2 separate regions of the Homo sapiens genome follow, and region 1 is linked to region 2. Evidence: promoter capture Hi-C in 16 types of primary human blood cells and fetal thymus (Javierre and others, 2016). All regions are on one chromosome and are shown on one strand. Each heading gives the region's core, a stretch centred on a gene start or on the middle of the fragment in contact. The rest is flanking DNA. Distances are from core to core; before and after follow the strand shown. Region 1 has its middle 5.1 kb from the start of PRPSAP2. Region 2 holds the start of FLII (FLII actin remodeling protein).

Evidence for each region. Contacts are between HindIII fragments. The CHiCAGO score rates a contact against its expected background, and 5 or more counts as called.
Region 1: a contact is called between a fragment that was not itself captured here and the fragment with the promoter of FLII in region 2, in 1 of 17 cell types (fetal thymus). The highest score is 5.7, in fetal thymus.

Annotation. Positions count from the first base shown.
Region 1 is chr17:18,849,719-18,856,333 of GRCh38, reverse strand. It overlaps a transcript of PRPSAP2 not described here. Among named protein-coding and RNA genes, the nearest start is that of PRPSAP2, 5.1 kb to the left of the region's middle. RefSeq lists enhancers at 204-263, 284-333, 1-352, 6,128-6,187. The HindIII fragment of the contact is 526 bases long and covers 1,520-2,045 here.
Region 2 is chr17:18,254,887-18,261,392 of GRCh38, reverse strand. It overlaps FLII (FLII actin remodeling protein), which reads left to right and starts at 2,655. Exons shown (of 30, transcript NM_002018.4): 1 at 2,655-2,765; 2 at 4,374-4,484; 3 at 4,796-4,867; 4 at 6,130-6,210. The coding sequence starts at 2,703. It overlaps MIEF2 (mitochondrial elongation factor 2), which reads right to left and starts at 731. Exons shown (of 4, transcript NM_139162.4): 1 at 656-731. RefSeq lists enhancers at 1-422, 1,044-1,173, 2,783-3,284, 3,284-3,363, 4,023-4,689 and silencers at 2,564-2,963, 2,974-3,113. The HindIII fragment of the contact is 11,245 bases long and covers 1-5,691 here.

The sequences.
Region 1 (6,615 bases), core at 533-3,032, 600 kb before region 2:
CTGGCGTAGATTCCACGCGTCACATGTTGGCATGTGACTGGATCTGGCCAGTCAGAGAAGTTCATCCCTCTCCGCTCGCTGATTCGCTCCAAAGATAGGCTACTGAGCCAATCGGAGCCCACGAAACACCGTCTCCATCCCTGCGCCGGGACTGGAGAGGCTTACTCTCTCCTGCTGATGCTGCAGCTGCTGGGATGCCAGGAGGGGAACCGCCTGAGGAAAGTGCTGAGAGAAAAGAGAGGGAGGGATACAGACCGGGCCCAGATGAGTTTGCGCTGAATCTGAAGTCGGTAGGTCCCTGGACATTTCTATTATGGAAGCCAAGAAGAACCTCCCCTCCACCCTCTGAAGCCAGTGTGGATCGGGTTTCTGGCACTTGCAGTGTCTGCACGGTCTCCTCTCCTTCCTTCTCCATTGCCCTTTCTCACCCGCCTGGGCCCGCCACCCTGAACTACCGGGACACATGCTGTTCCTGCCTCCAGGCGTGCACTTCTTCCTGCAGCCTCCTCCCCTACTAACTCCTTCTTGAACTTGATAGCTCCATTGTCACTTTCGAGTCTTCCCTAAACCACTCCCTTCCCAAATAAAACTGTTTCATGTATTTTTCTTTCATTGGGCTTATCACGATTTCTAATTAAGTGTTTGGGTGGTTATTTGACAAATATCACCACCTCAGCCCCTGTACACTGTAAGCCCCATGAGGGTGGGCTCTTCGTCCCTCCTGCTGATCACTGTTTCCCAGGGCCTGGCACAAGTATGGTACTCAAGAAATGTCTGGAAAATTGAGTGCCTTATCCTTTCTGGAAAGAAAATGGGCAGTAGCGCAGCATTATATAGTGTTTGCACCATACAAGAATAATATTACTGGAAAAAAAAAAACTTTTCTAAGAGACAGAGTCTTGCTCTGTTGCCCAGGCTGGAGTGCAGTGGTGCAATCATAGCTCACTGCCGCCTCGAACTGGGCTCAAGTGATCCTCCCGCCTCGACCTCCAAAACGCTGGGATTGCAGTCATGAGCCACCACACCTGGCCTTGAATTTTTTAAAAAATCCACTCTCATTAACCAGAATGAGCTAGCTCCAGTGTATCACCGCGTCCAGGGTTCTGCAGTGGGGTGGCTTGCTCCTCAATAGTTTCCCGCACTGCAGGCACTTAGTTTGTAGTTTCATTTGTTCTGTTATAGCAATACCACTCTTCCATCCGCCATCCATTCTCCAAGGACTATTGAAATCCCTTGTAGGCTGATGTCAAAACTCTCATTCTCTTTATCCTTGGGGTTTAGGCCATAGGAGTGTGCCATGGTAGGTGTTCAGCCAAGCTGACCCACCAGGTGACTGCAGCCCCAGCCACCACCTGACTGCAACTTTATGAAAGACCCTAAGCAAGAGCCACCTAGCTAAGACCAATCAAACCACAAAAAATTGAGAGCTAAGAAATTTTTTATTAAAGCCCAAGTCTGGGCATATTTTGTTATACAATGGGTAATGAGCAAGAAAGGAGCAAAAGCATAATGTAAAGCTTGTGGTCAGTTCCACACGAATGCAGTTTTTGGTTAGTCCATTGCTAAACTTGATAATCCCTTGCCCACTTGGATGTTTGCAGTCAGAGTCTTTGCATGTAATAGAAGTGCTCAGCTTGCTGCAACACGTCATTGGCCATATTCAAGGGCTAAACTGCTGTATATCGACTATAAATCAAGATACTCAAGTCTAAGACATTTCCCTTCAACATTTTTTAAAGGAAGGAAAGGAATCTTTGCTATAGTTTGATAGAAATTTTTGAGCAGTATGGTGTAACAAAAAACACAGGATTCTCCTTCAAATGGTTGTGCAAATGAAAAAACAGGGACTTAGGTGTCCATCACTAGGATGGAGCCTGCTTCCTGCCTCCTGTCCTCATTGTGGAAATGACCCTGGACAGATCCACCTCTCTAAGTTTCTGTTTCCTCAGTGGAAAAATGAGCACTAATATTAGCAGCCATATGATGGTTGGGGGTGAGGAGTTACTTTTAGATGGAGTCCATGAGTATGAGGCACCGAGGAAGCTTTTGCAGCTGCCTCTCTGCTCTCGCCTGTCTGGCTATCAGGGAAGAAAAACAAGGCACCCCTTTTTCCCCAGTGGAAGAGGATGGCAGCTTGCCTGGCTGTAGGAGGCAGCGGAGGCCAAAGCCAGGTCACCAGCCAAGGAGGCCTTGGAAGTTCCTATAGAGTCCTTTCCTGCATCCTCCAGCTTTTTTCCTTTTTCTTTTCTTTTTTCTTTTTTTGAGATGGAGCCTTGCTCTGTTGTCCAGACTGGAGTACAGTGGCGCAATCTTGACTCACTGCAACCTCCACCCTCCCGGGTTCAAGCTATTCTCCTGCCTCAGCCTCCCAAGTAGCTAGGACTACAGGTGCATGCCACCACACCCGGCTAATTTTTGTAATTTTACTAGAGATGGAGTTTTGCCATGTTGGCCAGGCTGGTCTCGAACTCCTGACCTCAAGTGATCCACCCATCTCGGCCTCCCAGAGTGCTGGGAATACAGGCATGAGCCACTGTGCCCGTCCTCTTTTCTCCTTTTTCTATTTTCCCCCAAAATGAAAGGAACTTCATTGTCTTTTTTTTTTTTCCCGAGGCTGAGTCTCACTCTGTCATCCAGGCTTGAGTGCCGTGGCGCGATCTTGGATCACTGCAACCTCTGCCTCCTGGGTTCAAGCGGTTCTCCTGCCTCAGCTCCCCAGCAGCTGGGACTAAGAACTTCATTGTCTTTTGTAAGCATAATAATATTTACACATTGTAAGAAAAATTCAAATGAGAAAGAAGAAAAAATTAAAAAGATATTTGCCATTATCCCATGTGGAGAGGTAGCCACTCTTGGAATTTTCCAATATGCCTTTTCCCTGTAACAATTTATTGCAGGCATGATTCCATGTTGATGAATTCAGGTCGACATCATCATGATATGAGCTGTGAATGAAAGACTGTAGTCTTGGGAACCAGCGCCTAGATCCAAATTCCTTCTCTCCTCACCAGCTGTGTGACCTCAACAAGTTTCTTAACCTCTCTATACCTGTTTCCTCATCTACAAAATAGGAATAATAACAGCATCTATGTCATAGGGGAATCTTGATGACCACTTGAGTTATCTGGCACACAGTTGACTACCACTTTCTATTAACCGCAGCGATTATGAGCTATTGTGATATGGATGAACCATTATTTTCTCTTAACTAATCCCTCATTCTGGGCACTTTTTACTATTAATACATAACCTGTCTTTCTACCTTTGCCCAAGTATTTCCTCACGTTAAATTTCTAGAGGTAAGCTTGTTTGGTCAAAGGATATGCCCTTTTAAAATTTTGTTCCCTGAAATTTTGTACCAATTTACAGTCTCACCAGGAAGGTGGAAGAGCATCCATGTCTCTTCATCTTCACCAACACCAGGCACCATCCATTATTTTTAGCTTGTCCAAGTGAATAGTCAATGTTTTCTGGGCTTTTAAAATTACTTGTCCACGGGCCAGGTGTGGTGGCTCACACCTGTAATCCCAGCACTTTGGGAGGCCGAGGCAGGCAGATCACCTGGGGTCAGGAGTTCAAGACCAGCCTGGCTGACATGGGGAAACCCCATCTCTACTAAAAATACAAGAAAATTAGCCAGGCGTTGTGGCAGGCACCTGTAATCCCAGCTACTGAGGAGGCTGAGGCAGGAGAATCGCTTGAACCCAAGAGGCAGAGGTTGCAGTGAGCCAAGATCACACCATTGCACTCCAGCCTGGGCGACAAAAGTGAAACTCTTTCAGAGATTCAAAATAAATAAATAAATTAAAAATAAAATAAAATTACTTGTCCAAATCAGGCTGCCTGTAGCTACCCTGGCTGCCTTGCTAGCTGACTTTTACCTCCATTCATTTACTCAACAAATATCAATAAAGTACTTAACTCATGCCAGGCCCAGTGCTGAGGGTTGGGGCTACAGCTGGGAATGGCAAAGCACCCACCTCATACAGTGACCATAGTAGATGATCCACTGCATGCTAAGAGTTTAACAAAGTCCTGCTTTAGTATCCAATAAGCTATACTAGGTAGGTTAAATATTTATAATATATATGCTCTCTGGATATATAAGGAGTTTTGGGCCGGGCACGGTGGCTCATGCCTGTAATCCCAGCAGTTTGGGAGGCCGAGGAGGGTGGATCACCTCAGGTCAGGAGTTCGAGACCAGCCTGACCAACATGGAGAAACCTCGTCTCTACTAAAAATACAGAATTAGCCGGTCGTGGTGGCACATGCCTGTAATCCCAGCTACTCAGGAGGCTGAGGCAGGAGAATTGCTTGAACCCGGGAGGCGGAGGTTGTGGTGAGCCAAGATCACGCCATTGCACTCCAGCCTGGGCAACAAGAGTGAAACTTGGTCTGAAAAAGAAAAAAAAAAAAACAGAAGGAGTTTTGTAGACCCGGCACAGTGGCTTACGCCTATAATCCTAGCATTTTGGGAGGCTGAGGCAGGCAGATCACCTGAGGTCAGGAGTTCAAGACCACCCTGGCCAACATGGTGAAACCCTGTTTCTACTAAAAATACAAAAATTAGGCGGGCGTGGTGGTGCATGCCTATAATCTCAGCTACCCAGGAGGCCGAGGCAGGAGAATCACTGGAACCAGGGAGGCAGAGGCTGCAGTGAGCTAAGCTGAGATCCTGCCACTCCAGCCTGGGCAACAGAGCGAGACTCCGTCTAAAAATATATATATATATTAGCATTAGCATTACCATTTTAGCTGTACAACCTTAGAAGTCATTTCTCTCTGTTAGTTTCCTCATCTGTAAATGGGCTAATGCCACCTACTTCATGTCACTATTGAGGTGGATGGAGTAGAATAACATATTTATGGTAATGTCAATAAACCAAAGCCACAGCAAGGTTGGCACGGCCCACACACAGGCCCCCGTGGCAGCCTCCTCCTCCTGGTGGCAGCACCTAGCCAAGATCTGGGCTTTGAGCCCTTTGCCCACACCCTACTCTCAACAGCTTTCTCCTGGGCACTACTGGTGACACTGTGCTGGCTCACAGCAGCACCCCACCCACCAGGACTTTTTTTTCATTTCCATAATTGGAAAGTGCAGAATCAGGGACTGATGATCCCCCGGTAAATTACCCCCCAACTCAACTTTATCGGGTCTCTCCCTGCCAAAGACAGGCATCGCCAAGGCCTCTAGCCCGAATCATAACAAACACTCTCCAAACCTTGTATCTCTGGCTCAGCCTCTCTAAATCCCTCCCTTAAGCTGGAGGGAGGAGCACCCTAAGCCAAACTTCGGGCCCACTGATCTCCTCCCCTACCTACACTGCCCTGCCCCAGCTGGAGAGCCCCTATGCCACTGTCCTGCAAGCAGTTTTTCCTTCCCCCTTCACTGGAAGCACCTCCTAGGGAGGCCTAAGGACTGGGGCCTGGTGGTGCTGAGGCCTGCCTTGGTGGCTTTGCTTCCTGGGGCCTCCAGGGGGTAAGGCTGGTGTACCTCCTTCTGAAGCATTCAAATCTTGCATTTGCTTGAAATCTTAGTAAATGGAAGGCTTTCCCCATTCACATTCTATCATAAGTATTTGTATTAGTCAGGACTTTTGCAATAAAACTCAGCTTGAACCAGCTAAATGTAAAGGGAAAGGGGCTAACTGAGGAGGGGTGAGGCTGACTTCCACAGCTAAAAAGCCCAGGGGACAGCTTCGTATGGCTAGATCCAGTGCTCCACTATCTCCAGGGTTTTGTCTTTCTTTGGTGATTTTATTCTCAGGCAAGCTCTGCCCAGTAATGCCAACAGGGCCACCAGCACTTGGAGGCCCCTATGGCACTTCATTCTGTGAACTCAGTAAGAAAGAGGCCCTACCCCACCAGCGTCCTTTGCAATGTCCAGTGAAGGACTCTGATGTCATATGTACACACAGGTATCTCACACATACATGAAGACATCACTCACACTCAAATGTTCCCCATGTGGATGACACATACATTCACAAATCACACACACTCATACATCACACACACATCCAGCTGTCTCTCACACAGGTGTGACTCAATATTCACACATGGCTGGGCATGGTGGCTCATGCCTGTAATCCCAGCACTTTGGGAGGCTGAGTCAGGCAGATCTCTTGAGCTCACGAGTTCAAGACTAGCCTGGGCAACGTGGTGAAACCCCATCTCTACAAAAAATACAAAAAATTAGTCAGGCGTGGTGGCACACGCCTGTAGTTCCAGCTACTCATCTGCCCCTGATTCTGCACTTTCCAATTATGGAAATGAAAAACAAGTCCTGGCGGGTGGAGTGCTGCTGTGACTCAGCAAGTATCACCAGTAGTGCCCAGGAGGATGGCTCGGGAGGATGGCTTGAGCCTGAGAAGTGGAGCTTGCAGTGAGCTGAGATTGCACCACTGCACTCCAGCCTGGGCGGCAGAGCCAGACCTTGTCTCAAAAAAAATAAAAAAATAAATAAAAAATAAATAAATAAATAAATAAAAATCTCTCCCCCTTAGATGTTACAGACCTGCAAACGGCCACCCTCAGAGGCCTAACTCACCCAGATTTAGTTGATATGCCACTTTTTTAAGGAACACACCTACCTCTTACCTAACACATCGCTTC
Region 2 (6,506 bases), core at 1,406-3,905:
TAGCTGAAGCCTGAAGCGCTGTGTGACTCAGCCCCGTACACCCGCCCATTCGCCCCAGACTAAAAATAAGACGGTCTCTGGGGCGATCCCAGGCCAACCGGGTGACCCGCCACGGCCCCAGGGCCGGTTTCAATCTCCTCATCGGTGACTCGGGGATCAATACTGCCACCCGCCCCCAGAGAGACCAGGAATCTACTTTGCAAACTGTAAAGCGCTTTAAATACTCCCAACCTGTCTAAATTGGGACTCAGCCCCATCTCTGGCGGGGTCGCGCAGGCCTCAGTCCACAGCCTTCCAGCTCCGAGAAGCAGGAAAGGGCACGGGTGGCTGAAAATAACCCAAGTTTGCGCAGCGGGGCCCTGGAGGCCGTTTGGCCTTCCCTCCTCCGCCAAACCTGCCTGCCCTGGGCCCGGGCGGAGCAGGCCGCGCAGCAGCCCTAGGTGGGCGGGTGACGCCCCGTTCGCAGGATAAACCAAGAGACCGAGAGGGGAAGGGGGCTGGGCTAGGATTCGAACGCTGCCCTTGGTCCCCCAAAGGTCCCCTCCCCGCCTTCCCCAGCGGTGATCGCGGGCCACGCCCCCGATCTGCGTTCCGTCGCGCGCCAAGCCCCGAGCCCGGTGACCCTGGGGGCCGCCCCGCCGCGCTCCAGCTGTACCTGCGTCGCAGCTTCCGCACGACGACCGGAGGAGGCAGCGGGACCACGGCCCCGGAGCTCAGACCAGCCTGGGAATGGAACGTGAAGGACCCTGGAACCCAACGACTAGGGCCCCGGGGGCAGCCGCGGACTTCGCAGCACGCAGACAAGCAGGCCCTAACTCCAATCGGAGCGCTCGAGTCCAGCGCACAGGTGCCAAAATACTGCGCGGTTCAGCCAATGAAGGGCAGGTCCCGCCCCCCAGCCGACAGCCGCACTCCCTCTGGGGCGGGACTCCCTGACGCAGTCTGGATTTAAAGGTGCAGGGCTGCATTCCGAGACCGCGAACAGGTGACGTGACAGGCGACCCTCCAGGACGTCTGTGCGTTGTAATGTGAGCCTCCGGTGTGGAGGAAGCTGTCTGGGCCCCGTTCCTTCTGGGGACCAGGTAGAGAGGCTGCACATGGCTAGAGGCCCGGCACATCCAACCTCTTAGGTCACCTCTGCGAGAGAGTGTCTTGGTGGCCTCATTCTTACCTGTGGGCCTGAGGGGCACAGCGCCTACCCCTGCCACCTGCTCTGTGCGAGCTTGTGTGGGCCATTCTCCACCTGGGCATCAGTTTTTCTCCTGTAAAATGGGGACACTAGACCCCCTCCTCCCCTGCGAAGGATGGTTGGGCATATAACAGCTGTGGCTCATTTATTGGGGTCCTGCTATGTGTCAGCCAGGGCGAGCCCCCTTGAACAGCAAGGACCAAGACGGATGCTTCTCTTCTGGAGCCTCCCTTTGTAGGGGGGTACGAGCACAGGGGTGCTGACACTAAGTGGGAATAATAACCTGGCGCACAAAACAAAACAAAACGGAATAATAACCTGCCACTCACTGAGCGCCTGCTGTATGCTGCGAGCTACACGTGCATTCTTTGTTAATTTGCTCATGGTGACAACCTTAGAAAGTATTTTACAAATGAGGAAACTGGGTAGGGCGCGGTGGCTCACGCCTGTCATCCCAACACTCTGAGAAGCTGATACCAGAGGATCACTTGAGGCCAGGAGATCAAGACCAGCCTGGGCAACATAGCAAGCACCCCGTGTCTACAAAAAGTATAAATAAGGCCGGGCGCGGTGGCTCACGCCTGTAATCCCAGCACTTTGGGAGGCCGAGGCGGTTGGATCACGAGGTCAGAAGATCGAGACCATCCTGGCTAACACGGTGAAACCCCGTCTCTACTAAAAATACAAAAAAAAAAAAAAAAAAAATTAGCCGGGCGTAGTGGCGGGTGCCTGTAGTCCCAGCTACCCGGGAGGCTGAGGCAGGAGAATGGCGTGAACCCGGGAGGCGGAGGTTGCAGTGAGCCGAGACTGCGCCACTGCACTCCAGCCTGGGCGACAGAGCGAGACTCTGTCTCAAAAAAAATAAAAAATAAATAAAATAAATAAATTTAGCCAGGTGTGGTGGCCTGCGCCTATAATCCCAGGTAGTCGGGAGGCTGAGCCCAGGAGTTCGAGGCTGCAGTGAGCTATGATCACACCACTGCACTCCAGCCTGGGCAGCAGAGCAAGAAGACCCTGTCTCAACAAAACAAAAACAACACATGAGGAAACTAAGTCCAGAAGCAGGAGAGCTAGGACCCGAGGATCCAGGTGTCTCACTACCACCGGTCAGCCAAGTACAGGCACTTCCTGGGCCTCTGCGCCCCGGGGCCGAGGTTTAGAATCTCTCTGAGGTCAGGGCCAGCTTCATGTGCTGCAGCAGCGCAGGTGACGGTGCCTCGACCAGCGGCCGTTACGGCCCCTGCCCTGGGGCGCTGGGACTTAAGCCTGGAGATCGTGGAAGCCTCCAACTCCAGCACAGGGGGGGCCCGCACTCCTTGGTGCCTCCGCAGTCTTCGAACAGACGGGGAAACTGAGGCCCTAAGAGGCCTAAAGCCTACACTTCCCCGCGGAATGCGGCGGGCGCGGGCGGGTTAAAGGGGCGGGGCCGGCGCTGGCCCAGCCCGCGGCTCCCCCCAGCGCCCTCGCCCCGGCGCTCCCTAGCCCGGCGCGGCCCGGCAGCGAGAGCGGCGCCATGGAGGCCACCGGGGTGCTGCCGTTCGTGCGTGGCGTGGACCTCAGCGGCAACGACTTCAAGGTGAGCCGGGCCGGGCGCGTGCCGGGCCTCCCTGCAGGCCTTCTCTTCCGCCCGGCCCGCTTGGCCTCCGCTTCCTGTCCCGCTCGGCTCCAGGCCCTGCGTGTCCCAGGGACTGCGGCCGGGGCGGGGTGGGGCTCTCCCCTGGCCAGGAATGGACCTCCGAGGCCTCCGCCCAGTGCCTGTACGGGGAGACCGAGGCTGGGCAGGCCGGGGACGGACGCTTGGGCTCGGAGTCCCGCCGGGGGCCCGGCCGGGAGCCCCCACCCCGCGTCCGTGTTCTCGGTCTAGGCTGGATGGTGGCCTGGGGATCGGGCGAGCCTCCCCGCCCCTCTGAGGTCACACGCCCAAGCCAGGCCCTGACTCAGGGATGGCTGCCCGGCTGCCCAGGGGCGGGTGTGGAGCCGACTCATCACTGCCCTCTCCCCGCCACCGCCACCCGCCATACTGTGTGATCCTGGGCCTCTCAGATCACTTCCCCTCTCAGAGCCTAGGCTTTCTCAGCCGGTGAAGGGGCTTAAAAGTCTCCTCCTTGGACGCAAGGAGTATAGTGAGATTTGTTGGTGTGGAGAGTGTGTCAGGCCGGTGTGCCAGGTGCTGGGTGGCAGTTGTCTGAGCAGCTGCTGGACTGAGAGAAAAGGGACCGGAGCCCAGCCCTCCGCAGCCAGTGGGTGGGGCGGCGGGGTGGTTCCAGGACTCAAGAATGAGACAGGCATTGCCTGACCAAAGGGGAAGCAGAGAAAGAGAGGGAGGGAGAGCTGGCTGGAGGGTCAGCCTCACCTTCAGGGTGGGTGACTGGCAGGGTCGGCCTGGGTTGTTGGTCTGGGGCTGGGGCCGAGGAGGCAGGTTTTTCCTGCGTTTACCTGCCTGTGTACACACCTTTGACCCCAAGTACAAGTGGCTACACCACTTTTCCCTGACCCCATCCCCACCACCCTAACCTGGGGTCCCCGTTCCTCTTTGCTGAACTGGGAGAGTCCGAGTCACCAGCTGGGAATGTGGCGCTAGGGGGAAAGGAATATCAGCCGCAGGCACTGAAGGCACCTACTGCCCCAGACTTGGTGCCACAAGGGCTGGAGGTGCCGAGGTGGGCGTTCACACACCAGGGGAGTGCAGTGATGCTGGCCTGCCCTGCAGGGTGGGGAGCCACGGTCTCCGCAAGCAAGGGTTTGACCCTGGCCGTGAGTTGCCAGTGTGCTGATGGCAGGATGAGGGCACAGGTGGCGCCTTTGCAAAGGCTTGGAAGGGGGATCCCCCACCCCAGGCAGCCAGTCAGAGTGTGGAATGCTAGGTGAAGGAATTTGAGCCGAGCTAACCACAGAGCCGGATGCTGGGCTTTCACCTGAAACAAGCCAGTTTTGTCCTGGCCCTCCTGGGGCCCAGAATCCAGTAGGAGAGACAAATCTTAGGCCAACACTTTTGTCACGGGGGGGCTTAAAATTCCCATTCTATGGGTGAAGAAATTGAGGCACAATGATGAAATGACTTGTCTGTGTTCTCACAGATGGTGAGAGTTGGTTCTGTGGCTCCCCAAAGGCTCCCATGGGCTGGAGGAGCCATAGAAGGTGGTGAGCAGGGGCTCTGTGCTTCACCTTGACATCCTTCCCCCAGGGCGGCTACTTCCCTGAGAATGTCAAGGCCATGACCAGCCTGCGGTGGCTGAAGCTGAACCGCACTGGCCTCTGCTACCTGCCCGAGGAGCTGGCCGCCCTGCAGAAGCTGGTAAGGGGGTTTGGGCGGGCAGGGGAGGGTCCCTGTGGATGAGCCAGGTGGGCAGAGCCTGTGGAGAAGGCAGACAACTTCTCCAGAGAGAGGAACACCGACAGCTATGAGCAGAGCTGGAAGAAAGGGAGTGGGCACCCTGTCCAGGGAGGTGTGCAAGAAGAGGCCGGGTGAGTGAGGGAGGGAAGCTGCAGGGGTAGTTGGGCCAGTGTGGCTGAGGCCTTCCTGGATGGTGCAGAGTTGTGGAGGCAGGCAGGGACTCTGGACACCCCACCCACCCTGCTGAGCCTGTGCTCCCCATTCCGGCCCAGGAACACTTGTCTGTGAGCCACAACAACCTGACCACGCTTCATGGGGAGCTGTCCAGCCTGCCATCGCTGCGCGTGAGTGCTGGCCGGGAGGCCACCGAGCTTGGGGTTGGGGCCAAGGTCCGGTCAGGGACGTGAAGCCTGGGCTAGACACCAAGCTGGGCCAGCATTTCTGCCCACCTCCGTGTCAGGCTCAGAGGCTCAGGTGTCACAGAGGGGCCCTCTCATTAGAGGTTACAGCAGTGCCCTGTGTAAAGTAACCCATGTGGATCAGAGAATTCCATCAGGAAAAAGGTAAAGAAATCCAAAATCTTACCAGCCGTTATGGACAATAACTACAGTAATAATAGCCAAGACTGGCTGAGCAATGTTCCCACTATTCTGTTAGGATTTTTTCATATGCTCTAGCCCTCCACTAATGTTGCAGAAGAGAAACTTGGCCACCAAGGCAGATTACTTGCCCCAGGTCACAGAGCCAGGCAGTGGTAGAGCTGGTGTTGAGTGGGGTTTGGCCGGGAGCACCGTGTACCTTCTACCCAAGACTTGAACGTCCCAGAACATCAGGCCCTTGGCCAGACCCTGTAGGCCTCAACGAGGGCCATCCCATCTGAAGTCAGAGCCCTGGAGATGTTTAGGGCACAGCTTCTGACTTGGACTCTCTGAGTTCAAAGCTGGGCTTTGCCACTTCCTGGTGATGTGACTTTGTACAAATCGCTTCTACCTTCTGGGCCTCCTCTGCAAGTGCAGTGGTTGGGAGGGGCAGCAGTGACCCCGTGAAGCAGCAGCAGGGTGCCGCACAGGCATTCAGACTGGAGAAGTGGCGGGGCAGCTCCGGTGACTCCCGTTGTCACTTGGAGTCACGACACCATTCTCTGGCCCTGTTCCCTCATGCTCAAGCTTTCTGCATGTCTGTAAGGTATGAGGAGGTGTCAGTCTTAAGTTAGGGAGAGAAAGCAGACTTCCTCTCCATCCAGATTCTGATTTCTCTGTGGTCCACTTCTCTCCCTCTGTTCTGAAAACCCTGACTCAGACCTTACCCCTATCTCACCTTCTGGAATTAAGAAGAAGAGAAATGGTTTGAACAGAAAAGGTTCCCTGAGGGCCCTGTGCTGGGGCTCCGGGGCACATTTGAGCTGGGCTTTGAGGCATGAATAGGAGCTCACTGGGAGGCTAGGAAGAGCGCTCCAGGAGAGGGAGCTATTTGATCAAAGGCCAGAGGTGAGAGAGTCCTCAGGCCTGGCCTCTGGTGAGCTGCCTGAGGAGGTGTCCCTCTCTAGACTCTGTTCCTTCCTGAGAGTGGAAGCCAGGAATTATAGACTCTTATGGTTTATTCCCAGGCCATCGTGGCCCGAGCCAACAGTCTGAAGAATTCCGGAGTCCCCGATGACATCTTCAAGCTAGATGATCTCTCAGTCCTGGTCAGTGGCTACCCACTCACCTGGCCCCTGTGCTAGCCGGACCATTCAATCCCCACTCACTATAAAAGTCCCTGGGGCCATTGTTATCCCATTTTGCAGATGGGAAAACTGAGTCTTGGAGTGGATAATACCTTGCCTGAGGTCACTTTTGGAGTCAGATCCCTAACACAGGCACTCTTCCTCCCAAGTCCCTGGCTGTCTCCCTTTGGCCCTGAAGCCCCCTCATCTACCCCCACACCCAACTCAGTGCCCTGCCTGATCCCCAAGCTTGGCAGACGCCTGGTGGGGAGGAGACT